Linked DNA regions of Homo sapiens: region 1 is linked to region 2. Evidence: promoter capture Hi-C in human tissues and cell types (Jung and others, 2019). All regions are on one chromosome and are shown on one strand. The core of a region is centred on a gene start or on the middle of the fragment in contact, and the rest is flanking DNA. Distances in the headings are between cores, read along the strand shown. Region 1 has its middle 49 kb from the start of PNMA8B. Region 2 holds the start of CCDC8 (coiled-coil domain containing 8 subunit of 3M complex).

Region 1 (3,782 bases), core at 102-2,601, 130 kb after region 2:
TTTTCTCTGGCAAATCAGAAAAGGATCATTTCTCTCCTTCCATGATCATGATGCAATAAAAGCCTAGGGCTCTTCTAGATTTATATTTTATCAAAGAAAGTGAGAGTCTTGTCTTATCCAAATTAACAGAAGCACTTAGTCCAGTGTCCAGTCGCTTGAGTGGCGGTGGCCACTCTCGGAAGGGCAATTACAAACTGTACTAATAGTAAGTCCAGCGCGCCATCTGGTGGCCAATTAGAGAATAGCATGACCGTATCTACTTAAACTAAAAGGCGACTCACCTCCCTTCTTGTCTGTTAAGGCTGCCCTAGCAAATTAATACAATAAGCTTGTTCCTGTTGGTCTTAGTCTGATTGAGAAAGAACCCTTGACTGCTTTGACCCATAGAATATGACAGATGTGACACTGTGCTGGGCATGGCGGCTCACGCCTGTAATTCCAACACCGAGAAGCAGAGGTGGGCGGATCGCTTGATCCCAAGACTGCAAGACCAACCTGGGCAACACAGAAAGACCCCAACTCTACTAAAAATAACTTTTTTGTTTTGTTGTGAGACGGAGTTTCGCTCTTGTCGCCCAGGCTGGAGTGCAATGGCGTGATCTCGGCTCACCACAGACTCCGCCTCCTGGGTTCAAGCGATTCTCCTGCCTCAGCCTCCCGAGTAGCTGGAATGACAGGGGTCCGCCACCGCACGTGGCTAATTTTGTATTTTTAGTAGAGACAGGGTATATCCATGTTGGTCAGGCTGGTCTTGAACTCCCGACTTCCACCCACCTCCGCCTCCCAAACTGTTGGGATTACAGGCGTGAGCCACCACTCCCGGCCAAAAATATAACTTTTAAAAATAGGCTGGCGTGGTGGCCCGCACCTGTAGTCCCAGCTACTCGGGAGGCTGAGGCAAGAGGATCCCTTGAGCCTAGGAGGTAGAGGCTGCGGTGAGCTATGATGGCGCCGCTGCACTCCAGCCTGGGTGACAGAACGAGACCCTGTCTAAACAAACAAACAAACAAACAAACAAGTGACACCGCCAGGCCTGGATCTACATTTTAAGGGAACCAGCAGATTCCGTCGTGATCTCTTTGGCTCCCAGGCTACTGTGTAAGAATTGCAACTCCCCAGCCGGGCGCGGTGGCTCACGCCTGTAATCCCAGCACTTTGGGAGGCCAAGGCGGCGGATCACGAGGTCAGGAGATCGTGACCATCCTGGCTAACACGGTGAAACCCCGTCTCTACTAAAAATACAAAAATTAGCCGGGCGTGGTGGCAGGCGCCTGCAGTCCCAGCTACTCGGGAGACTGAGGCAAGAGAATGGTGTGAACCCAGGAGGTGGAGCTTTCAGTGAGCCCAGATCGCGGCCACTGCACTCCAGCCTAGGCGACAGAGCGAAACTCCGTCTCAAATAAATAAATAAATAAATAATAAAAAAAGAATTGCAGCTCCCCTAAGAGCATGGAGCTGTGAGAAGGCCCAGGAGAATTGAAGCTTCCAGACATGGGAGTGAAGAAGCCATCTTGGAGGTGGGTCCTCCAGCCCTCATCACATGATGCCACGTGGAACAGAAATGAACATCCAGTCAAACCCTTTTCACATTCCTGACCCACAAAATCCTGAACAAGCTTGGGAATTAAGCTATTACTGTGCCATTTTTTGTTGTTGTTGTTTTTGTTTTTTCTTTTTGTTTTGTTTTGGGTTTTTTTTTTTTTTTTTTTTTTTGGTTTTCTGGGTTTTATTTGAGATAGAGTTCTGCTCTTGTTGCCCAGGCTGGAGTGCAATGGCACTATCTCGGCTCACTGCAACCTCCGCCTCCTGGGTTCAAGTGATTCTCCTGCCTCAGCCTCCTGAATAGCTGAGATTACAGGTGCCCACCACCACGCCCGGCTAATTTTTGTATTTTTAGTAGAGACAGTGTTTCGCCACGTTGGCCAGGCTGGTCTCAAACTCCTGACCTCAAGTGATCCGCCCACCTCGGCCTCCCAAAATGCTGGGATTACAGGCGTGAGCCACCGCCTGCGGCCATTGTGCCACTTTTATAGAGGAGGAGATTGAGGTTCAGAGGCCCAGTTGATGGTCCAAGATCACACACTGGGAAGTACTGGAACCAGGGTTATGAAATCCTGTCTGCTTGGCTGCAAAGCCTCTACTCTTCCACACTGCATTATTTAGGAAGACAGACAGGCTTTGGGCACGAGCGTGGGCCTCACTGAGGGGAGAGGGGCCTTCTGGCCTCAGTAATATCCCTGTTCCCTTCTCTGACTGTCACTTCCCCCTTAGAGACAGAGTTTCTGCAGAGTGGAGTCTCTTCTCACGCCTGGGAGAGTTTGTGCAGGAGACATGAGAGCTGAAGATCTGGCACCACCTTTGCCTTAAAGACAAAAGGTGACATTTGGGAAAAGCATGCCACTCTTCGAGTGGTACTTAAGGATCCATGGGCTGAATCTGCCTTTTTTTCCCCAACTGATTTGGCAAGGACCTTCAAATAAATCCAGTGGAGCTTCTTGGGGCAGCATGGCCCACTCTCAAGAGTTTAGCCTTTGAGTCATGTGTGGTGGCTCGTGCCTATAATCCCAGCACTTTGGGAGGCCGAGGCAGGCTCACTTGAGGTCAGGAGTTCAAGACCAACCTAGCCAACATGGTGAAACCCCATCTCTGCTAAAAATACAAAAATCAGCTGGGCATGGTGGCAGGCACCTGTAATCCCAGCTACTCAGGAGGCTGAGGGAGGAGAATCGCTTGAACCCAGGAGGCAGAGGTGGCAGTGAACTGAGATCGCACTACTGTACTCCAGCCTGGGCAACAGAGCAAGACTCTGTCTCAAAAAAAAAAAAAAAAAAAAGAGAGAGAGAGAGAGAATTTAGCCTTTGGACTCGCACAGATCTAGGTTCAAACTCCAGCTTTGCTACTGCAGCCTCAGCGCACTTATCTGTAGAATGGGATTTCAAAATGATGTCTGCTTCTCAAAGTTGCTTTGAGAATTTGCTGATATTTTGTCTTTAAAATACTTCATTGTGTGCTGCCTTACACAAAGATCAGAATCTCTGAAAGGACAGGACAGGAACTTTTTACTCACTCACTGCTTCACTCACTGCTGTATGCCCAGTGCTTTCAAAAGCACCTGGGGCTGGGCGCGGTGGCTCATGCCTATAATCCCAGCAGTTTGGGAGGCAGAAGAGAGCAGATAACCTGAGATCAGGAGTTCAAGACCAGCCTGGCCAACATGGCAAAACCCCGTCTCTACTAAAAATCCAAAAAAAAAAAAAATTAGCCAGGCATGGTGGCGCATGCCTGTAATCCCAGCTACTCAGGAGGCTAAGGCATGAGAATTGCTTGAACCCGGGAAGCGGAGGTTGCAATGATCCGAAATCAAGCCACTGCACTCCAGCCTAGGCTCCATCTCATAAAAAAAAAATAATTAAAAACAGTAAAAATAAATAAAAAGCACTCAGCGTGGGATTTTCAATAAATAGTTACTGAATGAGTAAATCAAAAGCAGTCAATGTTACATATGATGATCAGGGCATTTTCAGTTGCAAGCAACAGAAATCTAAGTCAAACTGGCTAAAGGAGAAACAAAAATTCACTGGCCATCTTATTGTAAGACAATAGTGTAGCTTAAACAATAAAAACAAATTGAATTCTCTTTCCCATAGTAGCTCCGGGGTGAATGACCTTGTGAGGCTGTGCGTGTGGCCATCATTCAGGAACCCAGATTCTTTCGGATTGTTGCTTAAAGTGTAGTCCCGAGACCAGCAGCAGCCTCTGGCAATTCATAGGAAATGCACATT
Region 2 (3,747 bases), core at 194-2,693:
TGCGGTGGAGGCCAGCCGGGCCTCGCCCACCCCGGGGCCCGCCCTCGGCGCCCAACCCTTCACCCTCCGCTTCAGCTTCCCCCAGGACACCTGGCTGACATACTCCCGCCACCTGTCCGCTTTGGACAGCTGAGGCCCCAGGTTGTCCTCAAACATGGGCACTGGCAGGTTGACGCGGCGGCGGGCAGGCGGCGCGCTGGGCTGCTTCTCCTGTCGCCGGAGGAAGGCCTCGACCAGTTCCTCATCATCCTCACTCTCCAGGTCGCTTCCCAGGAACTTGCTGCCCAGGTAGCTGACGGGCATTTTGCGCACCTTCTTGCCCCGCCGCGGGCCCTGGCGGCTCTTGTCTCTGGAGGTCTCGAAGTCGCTGAACTCGCTGTCGCTGGCGTTGCTGCTGTCGTACGTGCCCACGACCAGCCGGGGCGGAGGAGTCACCATCTGCTGCACTCTCCTCCTCACTCGGGGCTCCTTGGGCTTTTTGGGGGGCTGGGGCGGGTGCGGGGTGCTCTTCTCCATGATGCGGGCCACGTCCTCCAGGGTGCGGCCCTCTTCTTCCAGGAACTGGGTCAGCCGCTCCCGAAATTCTGCTTCCTTGGTGGCGGGCTTAGAGATGACTCTCCAGACGCCCCCAGCCAGCCTGACCTCCCGGGGGATGAGCAAATAGTCGACGTCCTCCCCGATCTGCAGCATCCCCACCGTGGAGTCCTCCTCCTTGCGGAACACCTTGCCGATCTTCTTAAATGTCCCCACGGGCTTTAGGGCTTCCACGAGGACGTCCAAATCCACATCTTTGCAGACATCGGGGACGCTCCAAAGAATGAGGCAGTCGGGGGACGGCAGGAAGCCCCAGGGGAACCAGCCCCCCACGTGGCTTTTCTCGAGAGTCTTTAAGATCTCCAGGGTGATATCTGGGGTGAGGGGGCAATGAGCCCCAACAAACTACTGTAGCCCTTAGTCTTGAGGGAGGGACTGGATGGGGGGAGTTCCAGCAACGCTGACCGGAGAGTCTCACCTCCCTAGCCAGGGACGAGCCAAACGCCTCCAATCTCTTCGCCTGCAACAAGTACAGTCTTGACCAAGTCCGGCTCCCCCACCAAGGACTTGGGGGAATCAATTTCCAGGATGCCTACGTGAGCCGGGGGCGAGGTCAGTCCCAAGGCTCAAGGCCCACTCCAAGCTGGAAACGTGGTGTCCCAGCTCCAAGTTGGGGCGCGCGGGCTGCCAGCGACTCTTCCTGCCCCAGGCCCCAGGGACGCGGCTGGAACTTGGGACAGGACTTCGCAGACAAAGACGGTCCAGTCGAAGCTATTCAATATGGCCGAGGCGCTGGGAGGCCCCAGCCCGGGCCTCCAGTAGGGTCCCCCGCCCCCAGGCAGGCCGCCACCCAGCTCCAGGCTGACCTTGACGCGCCGCAGCCTGCCAGCCCGCGCGCTTAGAGCTCTGCACCGTGGAGCGCGCGGGCAGGAAGTTCCTCCTCGCCCTCCGCCAGAATGAGGCCCACCTTCCCCCGTCTCATCTTACACTCCCAGACTCTGGAAGACTGACAGGGGGGCTGTCCACTCCCTTCGGGGCGGCCTCCTTCCCCTCCCCCACAGGGGTGTGGCCGCGCCCCGGGCCTAGCTGGGCCCATTGCTTCCCAGCGAAGCGGCAGTGGCCCACGTCAGCACCTTTCCTGAAAGGCAGCGGTTCCCAAACCTGCCATCCGAAATGTGCAAGTTTCCAGCCAAGTCCGGGAGGTGGGTGTGCTAGTGGATTCTACTTTTTGAGAGCCACTGGCACCACAGATTAGCATTTTAAATTCACGCGACTATCGGTACCCGTACACCTATATGCGTGGGTAGAGAAATGGGTACCTGACTGCAACAGTCCCACTGTGGCGCTTGGCAGGTCAGGGCTCAATACATATTTTTGAGGGGATGAATAAACCCAAATGTTCATGGCCAGGCGCGGTGGCTCATGCCTGTAATGCCAGCACTTTGGGAGGCCCAGGTGGGTGGAACACTTGAGGCCAGGAGTTCGAGACCAGCCTGCCCAACATGGTGAAACCCTCGTCTCTACCCCGGGTGTGGTGGTGCGCGTGCGTAGTCCCAAGCTACGCGAGAGGCTGAGGCAGGAGAATGGCGTGAACCTGGGAGGTGGAGGTTGCAGAGATCGCGCCACTGCACTCCGGCCTGCGCAACAGAGGGAGACTGTCTCAAAAAAACAAAAGTGCAAAAAAACCCCTACAAATAAACAACAACAAAAAACCCTAAAAGTTCACGAGTAGAGACTGCCTCTATTTTATGGTAGTATCTTACAGTGAAATATTTTGCAACTTCGAAAAAAGAATGAGATGGCTAAGGATAGGCACGGTTTATGAGGCGCTTCCTATGTAGTAGGCACCATTCCCAGTGCTTTCTATGAATGAACTCAGGAAATCCTTGCTATAACAGGAGACTGGTAGCATGAGTACAATTCCCATTAGACAGCTGAGGAAACTGAGGCCCAAGGACATAAAACCACACTCTCAAGGTCACAGCCATGGGGAGTGGTTGAGTTTGGATTTGAATCCAGAATAGTCTGCCTTTTGTGTCGACCAAAGAGTCAAGATGGCCAGGCGCGGTGGCTCACGCCTGTAATCCCAGCCCTTTGGGAGGCTGAGGCGGGCAGATCACGAGGTCAGGAGATCAAGACAAGACCATCCTGGCTAACGCGGTGAAACCCTGTCTCTACTAAAAATGCAAAAAAATTAGCCGCGCGTGGTGGTACGTGCCTGTAGTCCCAGCTACTCGGGAGGCTGAGGCAGAAGAATCTCTTGAACCCGGGAGGCGGAGGTTGCAGTGAGCCGCGATCGCACCACTGCACTCCAGCCTGGACGACAGAGCAAGACTCCGTCTCAAAAAAAAAAAAAGAAAGAAAGAAAGAAAAAAAAGAATCAAGATGTGAACCAATGCTAGTCGCATTCGGCCGGGAGCTCGGTTCTTGAGACGCGAGTCTACCGAAGCTCCCGCCAGTTGAGAGGCGAGTCTGCCGAAGCTCCCGGCCGAAAAAGCCAAATCCTTCCTTAACCCAGTGTCTGAGGGGTTTTGTCCGTGGCTCCTCCTGCTACAGGACATGCGACTAGCATTGGTCCACATCTTTGGAACCAGGCATCCAGAGACATGTTGAATAGGCCTCGTTGTTAGGAACCCTCAGAGGTACATGGTAAGGCCAGTGCCATCAATCATCTTTTTACAGACGGTGAAACTGAGGCTGGTCTGAAGTTGCACAGCTCTGAGTGGTGGATCTAATATAATATTAGAACCAGATCTTGGGCACTAGCATTTAAAACACTAGCTGACGCTAAAGACACAGCTAATCCCCTTCTCCTAAATGTGTTGCACCATTTAACCACTTAGCAGCCACAATACTTGCAGCCACTCTTGCCTGGATGTGTACAAAGCCCCCTCACTGGGCTTCCCGCCTCCCCATCACTGCTTGCAATCCAGGCCCCATCCAGAAGCTGGGGGCATCTTTTAAAAACTTAGGTCCGATCTGTCTCTACTCTTTTGAAAATTCTCCATCTCAGGCTGGGCGCCGTGGCTCACGCCTTTAATCCAGCACTTTGGGAGGCTGAGGCGGGCGGATCACCTGAGGTCCGGAGTTTGAGACCAGCCTGGTCAACATGGCAAAACCCCATCTCTACTAAAAAATACAAAAATTGCCGGGCGCGGTGGCTCACGCTTGTAATCCCAGCATTTTGGGAGGCTGAAGCGGGTGGATCACCTG

The links. The method cuts DNA at HindIII sites, captures the fragments that hold promoters and counts their contacts. A contact is called where the count stands out against the background at its distance.
Region 1: a fragment that was not itself captured here is called in contact with the fragment with the promoter of CCDC8 in region 2 in 1 of the 25 tissues and cell types used here (dorsolateral prefrontal cortex).

The regions. Positions count from the first base shown.
Region 1 is chr19:46,542,643-46,546,424 of GRCh38, forward strand. It overlaps the pseudogene PPP5D1P. Among named protein-coding and RNA genes, the nearest start is that of PNMA8B, 49 kb to the left of the region's middle. The HindIII fragment of the contact is 3,360 bases long and covers 1-3,031 here.
Region 2 is chr19:46,412,121-46,415,867 of GRCh38, forward strand. CCDC8 (coiled-coil domain containing 8 subunit of 3M complex) reads right to left here and starts at 1,444. Exons shown (of 1, transcript NM_032040.5): 1 at 1-1,444. The coding sequence starts at 690. RefSeq lists enhancers at 1-651, 2,318-3,151, 3,152-3,747. The HindIII fragment of the contact is 10,715 bases long and covers 1-3,747 here.